Regions from separate parts of the Homo sapiens genome. Here regions 1, 2 and 3 are each linked to region 4. The links are contacts of gene promoters, found by promoter capture Hi-C in blood cells and fetal thymus (Javierre and others, 2016). All regions are on one chromosome and are shown on one strand. The core of a region is centred on a gene start or on the middle of the fragment in contact, and the rest is flanking DNA. Distances in the headings are between cores, read along the strand shown.

Evidence for each region. Contacts are between HindIII fragments. The CHiCAGO score rates a contact against its expected background, and 5 or more counts as called.
Region 1: a fragment that was not itself captured here is called in contact with the fragment with the promoter of PTPN21 in region 4 in 3 of 17 cell types (naive CD8 T cells, M0 macrophages and monocytes); the score reaches 6.4 in naive CD8 T cells.
Region 2: a fragment that was not itself captured here is called in contact with the fragment with the promoter of PTPN21 in region 4 in 4 of 17 cell types (activated CD4 T cells, total CD8 T cells, naive CD4 T cells and 1 more); the score reaches 8.1 in activated CD4 T cells.
Region 3: a fragment that was not itself captured here is called in contact with the fragment with the promoter of PTPN21 in region 4 in 1 of 17 cell types (total B cells); the score reaches 5.0 in total B cells.

The regions. Positions count from the first base shown.
Region 1 is chr14:89,915,796-89,918,911 of GRCh38, forward strand. The region is part of intron 5 of EFCAB11 (EF-hand calcium binding domain 11); the gene reads right to left. Among named protein-coding and RNA genes, the nearest start is that of EFCAB11, 37 kb to the right of the region's middle. The HindIII fragment of the contact is 4,035 bases long and covers 1-3,116 here.
Region 2 is chr14:89,961,399-89,964,751 of GRCh38, forward strand. TDP1 (tyrosyl-DNA phosphodiesterase 1) reads left to right here. Exons shown (of 17, transcript NM_018319.4): 3 at 1,710-2,275. The coding sequence starts at 1,717. Among named protein-coding and RNA genes, the nearest start is that of TDP1, 7.1 kb to the left of the region's middle. RefSeq lists an enhancer at 1,478-2,677. The HindIII fragment of the contact is 1,634 bases long and covers 912-2,545 here.
Region 3 is chr14:89,943,501-89,946,816 of GRCh38, forward strand. The region is part of intron 3 of EFCAB11 (EF-hand calcium binding domain 11); the gene reads right to left. Among named protein-coding and RNA genes, the nearest start is that of EFCAB11, 9.6 kb to the right of the region's middle. The HindIII fragment of the contact is 4,864 bases long and covers 1-3,316 here.
Region 4 is chr14:88,553,705-88,556,792 of GRCh38, forward strand. It overlaps PTPN21 (protein tyrosine phosphatase non-receptor type 21), which reads right to left and starts at 1,303. Exons shown (of 19, transcript NM_007039.4): 1 at 947-1,303. It overlaps LOC124903405 (proline-rich protein 2-like), which reads right to left and starts at 3,086. Exons shown (of 2, transcript XM_047432047.1): 1 at 3,059-3,086; 2 at 953-1,356. The coding sequence starts at 3,086. The coding sequence ends at 992. RefSeq lists a silencer at 1,261-1,310. The HindIII fragment of the contact is 3,064 bases long and covers 1-2,192 here.

The DNA of each region.
Region 1 (3,116 bases), core at 235-2,734, 1.4 Mb after region 4:
CTAAATGGTATCAAATACTATGCTAGCCTACAGTGTTTATATAAGACATTAATTTAACCGGAAATAAAAATGATTGAGGAGGTAATTTCACATTTGTTAAAAAATTGAACTTTTCCCACCAAGATTCCTGTCTCAAAGATGGATGCTGCCATTTGACATGTGAATATATATGCTATCTAGCCATCCTTCCTGTTTAATTGAGCCACACCTAGCAATGGATACCAGTATCAAGAGAGCAGAGCCAAGCCCTTAAGGCACAACTCCGATCTCTGCACAGTGAATCATGAAAATAAATACCCCTGAAGAACAGTCTAATTTTTCCCCCCAAAACAATTTGTGTTTTCTAGGGAGAATGGCTCAGAAAAAAAAAAAAGAAAAAAAGAAAAAAACAACAAATTTGTGGATACAAGTTGTCTATGAGAAGTACATCTAGCTACTTGTGATGATAAATTTGTAACCCACAGAATAAATGGCACCAACTCTATGACAAAACTGGTCATTGAAGAAACTTCTTTACTAGACAATGTGAAAGAGACAGAAAAAAGGAAAGAACCATCCAAAGAATCAAATTTGACTCTGATGGCAGGGTTTGGTTAAAAGCCATCTGACAGAGTTTAAAACTACTGTGACAATTTTGTGATAATAGCAGTTTAAATCGCTATACAAATGTGTACTCAATTCATATTTGTTAAAGCCTCCAAGTCTAAATCTCCAATTGAAAGCCTAGTAAAGAAGACCATTTGAAATAGGCCCAGAAAAAAGTAAGGGCCAGCAGCTGCTCTATCCAATTCAACACATAATTTGAACATGTAAACTTTGATCAGATTAATTCTATTCCTTCGTTCATTTCATTCATTTATTTGTTCATGTATTCGTCAAATACTCTCTCCTGCAAACAGAGTTAAATTTTTACAAGGAGAGAACAAGAGTGAGACCCTCCTGCCCCTTCCTCTCCTTGGACAAGAGTCTTGATATCCCACGGCAAGGATTTCTAATTGAAGTCATGACTGGATTATGAGGAATCCTAACAATAAGACTTGGGTTAAGAAAAGCATTTTTAAACTTTTATTTGTTTCTTATATCCTTTAACATGACTCATGTCATGAGTCTCACTAAGTCTGTGTAGACATTTTTTGAGGTATGACTGACAAAAAATTGTCTATATTTAAGGTATACAAGATGACGTTTTTATAAAAGTATACTTTGTGTAATGACTCACAGTCAAGCTAATTAGCATATCCATCACCTGACATGCTTCGTGTGTGTGTGTGTGTGTGTGTGTGTGTGTGTGTGTGTGTGTGTATGTGTGTGTTGAAAACACTTAAGATCTGCTCCCTTGGCAAATCTGAAGTACACAACACATTAACTATAGTTACCATGCTGTACACTAGATCACTAGAATTCATTCACCCTGTAACTAAAATTTTGTATCCTCTGACCGACATCTCCCCATCTTCCCCACTTCCCAGCCCCTGGCAACTACCATTCCACTCTTTTTCTCCAAGTTTGACTAGTTTAGATGTCACATATAAGTAATATCATGCAATATTTGTCTTTCTGTGTCTGGCTTCTTTCACTTAGCATAATGTCCCCAGATTCCTCCATGCTGTTGCAAATGGCAGGATTTCCTTCTTTTTTAAGGCTGAATAATATTCTGCTGTACACACATACCACAATTTCTTTATCCATTCATCCAGTGGTGGGCACTTAATATGGGTTTCCATATCTCGGCTATTGTGAATAATGCTGCAATTAACATGGGAGTGCAGACATTTTATTCTACCTGTAAATTCAGTCTACTCCATCATTATCATTACTAGGCAGTGGCATTTCTAAACAAGAAAATAACATTTTGAGGTTATGAAAACACTTGACCATTAACAAGTACCAGCAACATGATTATAATCAAATAAAAAATTCTGATTGCCCTAGGGGCTTGGTTCTGTGACTTCTTTGACCAAAAAAATAATAATAATTGCGAATTAGTTGTTTGGTTTGAATTGAGCAATAAAGGACTCTCAGCTTTAACTGTAAAATGGATAGAAATGCCGTTGATGTGGAGAGTCACTGTAAGGACTAAGTAAGGCAACACGTAGTTGGTAATCAATGAACGGGAAGCACTGTGACTGCAGTGGACAATACAGTGCAATGAAAGCTGGGGAAGAGCGAGAATCGAGGACTGGCTCTCCAGGCAGGGTGTGAATGCTGTGAGAAGCTGGCAACAATGAACCCTGAGAAAAAGGACAGGGGACAACTGGAGGTACTTAGTTGGGGAGAGCAGCTTTCTAGGATGGATATGAGTATATCTTCAGGCAGGGATAGGCATTATAAACAGAAGTGGGAATGGCTGATGGAGAAATGTCTTAGATCAAAAAAAGGGGAAGAGAGAAGACCAGAACAAAAGAGAGGAATTAGGAAAAAAAGAAGAGACCCCTTTTCCTCAGAAATAAAATTAAAGGAAGGCTGGGCGTGGTGGCTCACGCCTGTAATCCCAGCACTTTAGGAGGCCAAGGCAGGTGGATCACCTGAGGTCAGGAGTTCCACACCAGCCTGACCAACATGGTGAAACCCCATCTCTACTAAAAATACAAAAATTAGCCGGGCATGGTAGCACACGTCTGTAATCCCAGCTACTTGGGAGGCTGAGGCAGGAGAATCGCTTGAACCCAGGAGGTGGAGGTTGCAGTGAGCCGAGATCACACCACTGCACTCCAGCCTGGGCAACAGAGCGAGACTCCATCTCAAAAAAAAAAAAAGAAGAAGAAGAAGAAAGAAAATTAAAGGAATACAGAAAAGAGATGAAGAGAAGGCAGTAAACCCAGGAAGAGGCCATGATCCTCTCCATGAAGAAAAAGGCAAGATCACCTGCAAAGCACAGTAGTGGGAAAGGTTTGGTACAACCATCACAGAGAATACATCCTTACAGAGAGAGCAAGAGATTTGATCTCATATGACAACTCTAATGAGCTGGCTTGGGGTATTGTACTGAGAAGAACTCTGAGTTCTGCAGAAGAGGGCAGCCACAGGTACAGGAGGGGTCAGTGGCAGGCATGTCAACTACGTGCCATCCCTATAACAGGGAACTGAAGCCAGCTGAGTTACATTTCTCCTGGATA
Region 2 (3,353 bases), core at 479-2,978, 1.4 Mb after region 4:
GATATTCCTTATCTCTAGGCCAGTGCTTATTTAGCTGCTGAAGAAAAAAGAACCTTGTGGAAGGTAGAACATAGTTTAAAGGTAGCAGTGTGTGATTTAACCCTTGCTTGGCATGGCCTTAGGTCTTGTTTATGATTTAGTGTCATATTGTCACAGAATCTATTCTGCCAGTCTTACGATCTCTGGTCAGTTGTGTTTAAACCGCAGAAGGGAGGGGATATAACAGGCATGTCTGAGCTCCCATCTCATCATGGCCCGGAACTCAGTTTTTAAGGTTTCTCTGGGGTCCCCTTAGCCAAGATTTTTATTTTTAGTTCTCATCTAGAGACATATGCATATGTATTGATTTGCAAATCTTTTGATGTAGAATAATGTTGAATTCTCTTTTTTGGGGAATGTAGGTTTTGTGAAGGGAGTGTCACCATCTTGGTTTACTCCACTCAATGCATCTTTTCCAGCCTCATTAAAACAGCAGAAACTCGAAGATACTGTTGATCTGAGCACAGACTACTGAGTTTTGTAATTTTCCCCTGGGTCTTGTGCTAAAATGTTAAAAGTATCACATTGAGGAACTGTTCTTTAGCTGTCTGGAAAGTCTACTTAGATAGTCCTTTACCACTGAATTGACAAGATTTGGTAGGTAACAGCAAAAGTGACTGTTTCGTGTACTTTCCTGTTCTCAGAACAAGAAAGTAGAATTTGACTGTGGGGCTTAAAAAATAAAAGTGTGTTGCTTCAGTACAAGTTATTTCTGTGTAGGTGTTAGTAGATTTATGATGTAGCCAATAGGATAATTATATCTTGATATAATTATATCCAACTAATTATAATTAGTTGGGTCCTCATGGAAGTAGTGTAAATAATGTACATACCTAAGTGGTCATTTGGCTTTCCTCTTGAAGACTTTGTTAAGCTTTATGGTAAATGGGTTGTCTTTTGGGAAGTAAGACATACATAATCACTGAAGTCCTGTGGGTGCCTGTACTTGGGTGAAGGCTAGGTTTGTAAATTCCAATTTGACCTTAAGCATTTGAACATAGATTAAATGGACCTTAATCCCAAACGCTTATTGGAAGTTTCGGGGTCAAGAATGAATGTTTGTTTTATTTTGGCATTTGTCTTGATGCATTCTTCAACCCCCTTTCCTAGGACATCTAAGAACAAAGTTTAGATTGAAAGCCAAGGCCAGGCATGGTGGCTTATACTTGTAATCCCAGCACTTTGGAAGGCCAAGGTGGGTGGATCTCTTGAGTCCAGGAGTTCAAGGCCAGCCTGGGCAACAATAATGAAACCCTGTCTCTACCAAAAAAAAAGAAAAAAAAAATTAGCCAGACGTGATGGCGTGCACCTGTAGTTCCAGCTATTCGAGAGGATGAGGCAGGAGGATTGCTTGAGCCCAGGAGGCAGATGTTGCAGTCAGCTGAGATTGAACCACTGCACCACTCCAGCTGGGTGACAGAGCGAGACCCTGTTTCAAAAAAAAAAAGGAAGAAAAAAGAAAGGTGACCAGGACTTTTGCTTGTGATTTGGCAGAATCTGATAGTGGATTCTGGTAATGTGCTTATAAACACCCAAAAAGCAGCTGATGTTAGGTGGTTCAGCCTCTGGAAGGTGTCAGCTCATCTGACAGGGAAGTTGAGAGCAATAAAGTTATTTTGCCAATGCCCTGATGAATGGGAAATGCTGATGTTTCCACTTTTCATTTCCAGGAGTATAATGTCTCAGGAAGGCGATTATGGGAGGTGGACCATATCTAGTAGTGATGAAAGTGAGGAAGAAAAGCCAAAACCAGACAAGCCATCTACCTCTTCTCTTCTCTGTGCCAGGCAAGGAGCAGCAAATGAGCCCAGGTACACCTGTTCCGAGGCCCAGAAAGCTGCACACAAGAGGAAAATATCACCTGTGAAATTCAGCAATACAGATTCAGTTTTACCTCCCAAAAGGCAGAAAAGCGGTTCCCAGGAGGACCTCGGCTGGTGTCTGTCCAGCAGTGATGATGAGCTGCAACCAGAAATGCCGCAGAAGCAGGCTGAGAAAGTGGTGATCAAAAAGGAGAAAGACATCTCTGCTCCCAATGACGGCACTGCCCAAAGAACTGAAAATCATGGCGCTCCCGCCTGCCACAGGCTCAAAGAGGAGGAAGACGAGTATGAGACATCAGGGGAGGGCCAGGACATTTGGGACATGCTGGATAAAGGGAACCCCTTCCAGTTTTACCTCACTAGAGTCTCTGGAGTTAAGCCAAAGTATAACTCTGGAGCCCTCCACATCAAGGGTAAGAGGATGCTGGGTGTCAAGGAGCTGTTGAATTGCCCTTGAGAGTCTCTCCTCCGTGAAACAAGGAGGGCAGCCTAGAATAGTTTCTGAGAACTCTTCTTTGTGTTCTTAACTACTTTCAGGAAAAAAATTCTTGACAGGCAAGTGCATTAGTATAACAGCAGACTGTTTACTTAACTCAGGCAGAGCGTGTGTTCTCAAAACCCTGTAGCTCAACCCCTTATATCACTTAGCACGATGTTTAGCATTATTTAACTTTTTAAGATGAAGCTTGATGAGTAACAGTTTATCAACAAGGTAGCAAATACTTGACAACAGTAGTAGTTCTCCATGGGCCCTGGACCAGCAGCCTCAGCATCACCTGCAACTTGTTAAAATGCAAATTCTCGGGCCCCATTCCCGATTCATTAAATTGGACTCTGAGGGTGAGATCCTGCAGTCTGTGTTTTCACGAGCCCTTGAGGGGATTCTACTGCCCAGTCAAGTTTGAGAACCACTGCTTAAAAGCCTGGTTTTAGTTCCTGGTGAAGAAGAAGAAGAAAAAACAAAATAGTGCCTGAGTGCAAATAGATGTTTCAGTTATGGATCAAAAGATGGCCTTAGTTTGCTCTCCTTATTCCTCAGGGAGCACCTGCAGGAGGAAGAGCAGGAGCTCTAGAATCTGCTTTCTGGCCTCACCACTCATTTGCTGTATGGATTGTTAACACAGGACCTAACATTCTCTGAATTTTAGTTTGCTCATCTTTAAACTGGAAATGCAGAAAAATGGGAGCAAATATATGAAGTAACCAGTGTAATATATTCACATGGCAGATACAATAAACATTATTACCCTTATTTCAGATTTTTTTCCTGTCCCATATTTAAGAATAGTAATGTTCACTGTCAGCAGTGTTGTTCTTTTTTTATATATCCAGTATATAATTGTATATTGTGTGTGATGTATACATGTTGGAGTATTTCATACTGTAGAGTGTTCTACAGGTTGTTTTCTTTTTGAGAATCTCTTATCTTGGTACTTTGTCAAGTTTTTTGTTTGTTTGAGACAGACTGACAAATATTTAGAGAATTTTGCC
Region 3 (3,316 bases), core at 182-2,681, 1.4 Mb after region 4:
CAAATTGCATGGGACTACAGGCGTGAGCTACCACACCCCGCCAATTTCAGTTCTTCAAGATCCAAACATTAAGAAGAGAGATAATATATGTGGAAAAACATTTAATCTGCACATGTGCTCTCTTCCTTCAAGAGAAATAGCATGTAAAATTGACTCGTATCAATAAGAGGGAAAGAAGAAAAAGTGGATGGTTTGAAATTGGTTCAGTATTGAACAATTCTAATAGAAAAATTGCATGTTAGCAGCAATCAGAGTACAGCAGTGATTTCTTGCTAGGCTATTTTACTCCTTTTCTTGAATGTTTGTGGTCTTGAGTTTCTCCAAATAAACACACACACACACACACATACATACACACTCACACTAGAGTACAGCTGGGAGAATACAGGTGGGGACTGTATTCTTTCTTCCAGAATCCATACCTCTCTGCACATTAGAGAACTAGTTAAGGAAAGAAAACATTCAGTGTGAAGTCAAATCCTTAATTCAAAATCAGAGAACATACAGAAGAAAGAAAGTCTATGAGAATAATGAATGTTAAAATGCCTTCAGCAATAGTCACACTTGATGTATCAGAAAAGCCACTGTATTAATCTTTTCTCATGCTGCTGATAAAGATGAGACTGGACGATTTACAAAAGAAAGAGGTTTAATGGACTTACAGTTCCACACGGCTGGGGAGCCCCCACGATCATAGCGGAAGGCAAAGAGGAGCAAGTCATGTCTTACATGAATGACAGCAGACAAGAGAGAGCTTGTGCTGGGGAACTTCTCTTTTTAAAACCATCAAATCTCGTGAGACTTATTCACTATCACAAGAACAGCCTGGGAAAGACCTGCCCCCATTATTCAATTATCTCCCACTGGGTCCCTCCCACAACACGTGGGAATTATGGGAGTTACAAAATGAGATTTGGGTGGGGACACAGCCAATCCATATCAGTAACATAATAGAGAAACACGATATTATGACTAGGGTAAGATCTTCATCCAGAAAGAATAACTCACTGAATATCAGGGAACTCTTAAGAAAGAGAAATCCTATCAATGCAAAGAATGTGGGAAATCCTTTTGCCAGAAAACAAAACTCTCTGTAGATTGGAATATTCACAAAAAACCCTAATGAAAAAAATGTAGAAAAGGCTTTATCAAGAAGTTGTAACTAATGGAACATCAAACATTATTCTGAATATTTTGAAAGTGAAAATTTTCAACAAGAAATTTAAAACCTGGAGCAATTCTATCAAGTTAGCGATTATATCAAGAACATGTTCTCCTAGCAATAATCCTGAAAGTCTTATTTTAAATGTGATTCTAAACCTTGTACATAAAGTGTATTAGATTTTAATACAATATTAATAAATCTAATAAAATATTAGATTTTATTAGATCTAATAATAAATCTAATAAAATATTAGATTTTATTAGATCTAATAATAAATCTAATAAAATATTAGATTTTATTAGATCTAATAATAAATCTAATAAAATATTAGATTTTATTAGATCTAATAATAAATCTAATAAAATATTAGATTTTATTAGATCTAATAATAAATCTAATAAAATATTAGATTTTAAATCTAAATGTTAGTAATCCCTGCTCTCTTTTCCCCCCCCACTCAGTGTGGGTAGTAGTTTCTCATTTTTATTGATTACCTCAACAAAATCAGCTTTTAATTTTTTCTTGTTTGTCCTCTTTTCAATTTCAACAATTTCCATTCCAATCTTTACTATTTCCTTTCCTCCACTTATTTCGGGCCTTATTTACTCTTTTTTGTAGTTAAAGGTAGAAGATAATTAAAGGTAGAAGCTGAGGTCATCAGTTTGACACCTTTATTCTTTCCTAAACATAGAAAGTTAGTGCTACCACTTTCCAAGTATTGCTTTCAATCCATCCTACAAAATTTGAAATGTGGTCTTTTCATTCAATTCAAAATACTTCCTAATTTTTCCCTTTTGATTTTTTCTTTGACCTATGAGTTATTTAGAAGTGTGCTATTTGTTTGGAACTTTTAAACTTTTACTTGGAACAACTATTTGCAACTTTTCCAGACAGCTTTGCTATTGATTTCTAATGTCGTTCCATCACAAAGAACATACTTTGTACTTTAAATGTATTGACATGTTTAATGGCCCAGAGTATGACCAATTTTATTAAATATACTGTGTAGACTTGAAAAGAATGTGTATTCTGCTTTTGTTGGGTAGAACATTCTATAGATTACAATTAGGTCACACTGGTTGACAGTGCTGTTCACGTCTCCTATATCCTTATTGATTTTATGTCTACTTGCTTAATTATTGATAGGGGTGTTGCAACCTCCTACCATCATTATGGATTTGTCCATTTTTCTTTACAGTTTTATTAGTTTTTTGCTTCATGTATTTTGAATTTCCATTATTAGGGGATTTTTTTTTTTTATTTTTTTTTTTGAGACAGAGTCTTGCTCTGTCACCCAGGCTGGAGTGCCGTGATGCAATCTGGGCTCACTGCAACCTCCACCTCCTGGGCTCAAATGATTCTCGTGCCTCAGCCCCCCGAGTAGCTGGGATTACAGGCATGCACCACCATGTCCAGCTAATTTTTTTGTATTTTTTCGTAAAGACGGGGTTTCATCATGGTTGGTCTCAAACTCCTGGCCTCAAGTGATTCGTCTGCGTTGGCCTCTCAAAGTGCTGGGATTACAGGCTTGAGTCATGGCACCTGGCCAGGGGCATAAATGTTTAATTCCCTTAATGAACTGGCTCTCCTTATCCCTGGTAATATTTCTTCTTCTGAAGTCTACTTCATCTGATATTAACATGCTCACTTTGGCATACTTTTGGTTAGTGTTCAGTACAGTATATATTTCTAATCTTTTTTGCCCTTATGTTTAAAGTGGGCTTCTAGGCAACACAGAGTTAGTTGGTACTCTTTTATCTAATTTAACAGTATCTCCCTTTCAATGGGGCTGTTGAGATCATTTACATCTAACTAAAACATTAATGATTGGATTTAAATCTACCATATTATTTTTCTACTTGTCTATTTCCATCTATTTTTTGTTCCCATTTTCTTCCTTCTGTTGAATTAATTAAGTTTTTTAAGAGATGAGGTCTCACTCTGTCGCCCAGGCTGGGGTGCTGTGGTATGATAATGGCTAAGTGCAACCTCAAACTCCTGGGCTCAAGGGATCCTGCCTCAGCCTCCCAGGTAGCTAAGATTACAGGCACGTGCCATCATGCCTGGCTTTTTTTTTTTTTTTGCTTTTTTGTCGATTCAGAGTCTCATACTATGTTGACCAGACTGGTCTTGAACTCCTGGCATCAAGCA
Region 4 (3,088 bases), core at 53-2,552:
TGAACTATTTGTGAATTCATTTTAATTTTCCCTCTCTACAACCCTTTCCAAAAGTTCCTCAAATACACTTTACCTCTCAATCTTACAGCGTTTCCCCTTTCCTATTAAGGTCCTTACCACATGTAATTTTGCCAAAGTTGCTTTAAAATAAAATAAGCACTAAAAGGAGAGAGTATGTGACATTTTTAGAGTAATATCTATAGCTATAGCATTAAACCCATGTTTCTCACGGAGAAAACATCTGTGCGTAGATGCTCCAGAATAAAATGCCCTAGAAACGAAACGGACTATATTCAGAGTAAAATTACTGTCGTGTCCCAAACTTAAAAAAATAAATAAACTGTCAGCAACTATTAGGCATACAGCAGTTGTCACTTGGAGCACACGAATGTTCTGAATGTGTTTGTGAGCATACGCTATTAGTATAAGGCTTTCTCAGCAAAAAAGAAAATAGGACGAGCATGCCAAGAGCGGCCAATCTAATCAGGATTTGCAGAAATCACAAGTCGGAATTTGCAGATCCAAGAATTCTTGTTTCCAGAGTAAATACTCTACTCCAAAAACAAACCCAGGCGTTACCAAACAGTCCTTCCCTGCGCCCCTTCTCGCCAAAGTTATCTGGCGAATTTCACGTTTATATATTCTGAGAGGCACAAATATGCCTAACACATTTAAAACCCTGATCCAGAATTAACCCGCAACAATCGGCCAGGGCGTTCGGAATAGAAGTTCAAGACTCCTTTTAGAAATTACTCAAGTATATGAGAGCGAACCTGAAAAACAAGACTTTTCTCTTTGTTACGCTCCCGCTACGGGTCTGGCCGCCGCGCCCCATTCTCCGGGATTCCGGGGCCGCGGGCGCGCTCCGGGGTCCGGGCGAGTGGACACACCCCACCGCTCGGGCCAGCCGCCCGCCCCTCCCGCCGGCCGGGGACCGCGCCCTCACCTGCTCCCGCTCCCGCTCCCGCATCCTCGGGGCCGCGCGCCCCGCTCAGCGACCCGCCTCCCGGGGCCCCGCCGCGCGGCCGCCGCAGCCGCACCCGCACGCCAGCCCGGGCCGCGGCGCGCTCATGGGGCTCGCACGCCTCACTTCCTGTCTCCAAAAACCCGGCTCGCAGACCATTCCCCTGGGCAGAGTCCGGCGGTGGCGACGGCGAGGGGCGAGGCCTGGAGGTGGGACCGGCCGGCGAGGAGCGCCGCACAAAGAAGCCCCGTGGGGGCGGGGGGTGGCAGGAGGACGGACAGACCGTCGGACCGACGCGGGACGCGCGGCCGGAGCAGCGGGGCGGCCGGGCCCAGGCGTCCCTCCCCCTGAGCCGGGCGGGCGGATCCGGGGAGGCGGCGGCGGCCCGTGACCTCAGAGAGTTGGAATGCGGGCAGCCGCGCGGGGGAGGCGCGGACAGCTGCGCCCGGCCGCCGGGGAGGGGGCGCGCCGCTGCTTTTTTTAATCGTATGACCACTTATTTTAAGAGTTTCCAAATAAAGCAAGGCTTTTAATAAAATGAGTGGAGGGGGTATTATTTAGGTTCCAGATAAAGGGTTTTATTCCTGTGTTATTAGGTAGGCTGTAAAATGCTGTTATTGATGGTTATTCGTTTACTCTGGTATATTTCTGAACACTATTGGAATACATTTCTTCTTTTCCTGCTTGCTCCTAAGGTTATGCCCCATATAACTAGACACTTCCAGTACTGGGTGGGAAAGCCCCCCCACCAAAAATGGTTCATATGCCTCAAATAACCTGTCAGTCCCCAAAAGGGAGCTGTCTGCTTATGCAATATAGAGCAGAACTGTTAAGGATGGAGACTTGACAAAGTTGTCAAATCCCAGCTCCAACATTTACTAGCTGGATGACCTTGTGCAAGTTTCTTAACTTCTCTTTACCTGTTTCCTCTCCTATAAAAGAGGGATATTAATATCTTTGCACAGCAGGGGTGGGGGAAATAAATACTAAGCAATATCCAATAACTTGTGTAAAGTATATATGAAGTGTTTCGTTTAAGGTTTATTATACAGTATTCTTGTACTGCATTATTACTGTATTGCAGCACTTAAGCTGAGGAATAAAACTGTGTGACCCTACCACTATTACAATAGTGTAAGATCTTTTCTTGGCATGTGGAACACAGAACCTTTTAATTTATGTAAATTTTAATTTCAGTGATTTTGTTTTAATGCTGTTGTTTCTGGAAAGCTTTTTAAAGTATTGTTTCATGTAAATCTCATTTTCTTAAACAATTAACAAAAACTTTTGAATACTTAACTCTGCATGAGACGTGGTCCCTGCACAACACGGACTTTTGGTTTAGTGGGTGATAAACGCACCTGCACACCACACACGCAGTACAAGGCCAAAGTGGGGAGCATTGTCATAGAGGTATGAGTGCTATCCAAGAGCAAAGCCCAGCAAGGTGCATCTTGGGTCGTTTAGCTAAAGGCAAATAAGATTACCTGTGTTTCTAAGGGAAAAAAAATAGATCAATTCTGTTTGTAATTGATATTTCAACTGAACTCTATGAGGGGGTCAATTTGTGTGTGAGCAAAGAAAAGAGATCTAAAAAGAAGTCACTTTGCTGGCTTCCCAAGGTAGAAAAACTGGAATCATGTGTGACTTCTCCCATTATCATCTCCAGCCTGTCATCAAGACCTGGTATTTCCTCCTTTGAAATGTCTCATGAATTCTTTGTTTCCTTTCTGTTCCCCCTGGAACATTCTAAATCCAAACCCTCATCATTTTACATCCGGATTATTGCAACAAGGGTGGTCTCCTGGCATCTGGTTTCTCAGTTCTCTCTTATTTCCTTGCTAATACCAGGCTTCCTTCTCTTATCACTCTTAATGGACTCCCAAGGTTAAGTTCTTCTGCCTGACCTATAGGGACTTTCCAAACGGGCCTCTCTGACCACCTATATCGCTTTCTGCCCCTGTCAAGCTTTGCCCCTGGCCAGCAGCCCCTCCTGCCCTCTTTCCACTTGTCTAAGCCTTCTGCTTCTCTGCAAGTAAGACTCTGCTTCCAGGATGACTTTCTAGCCACACCATTCCACAGTGATCTCCACACTTGGCAAGAACTGTAAAAGTTGTTTCATGA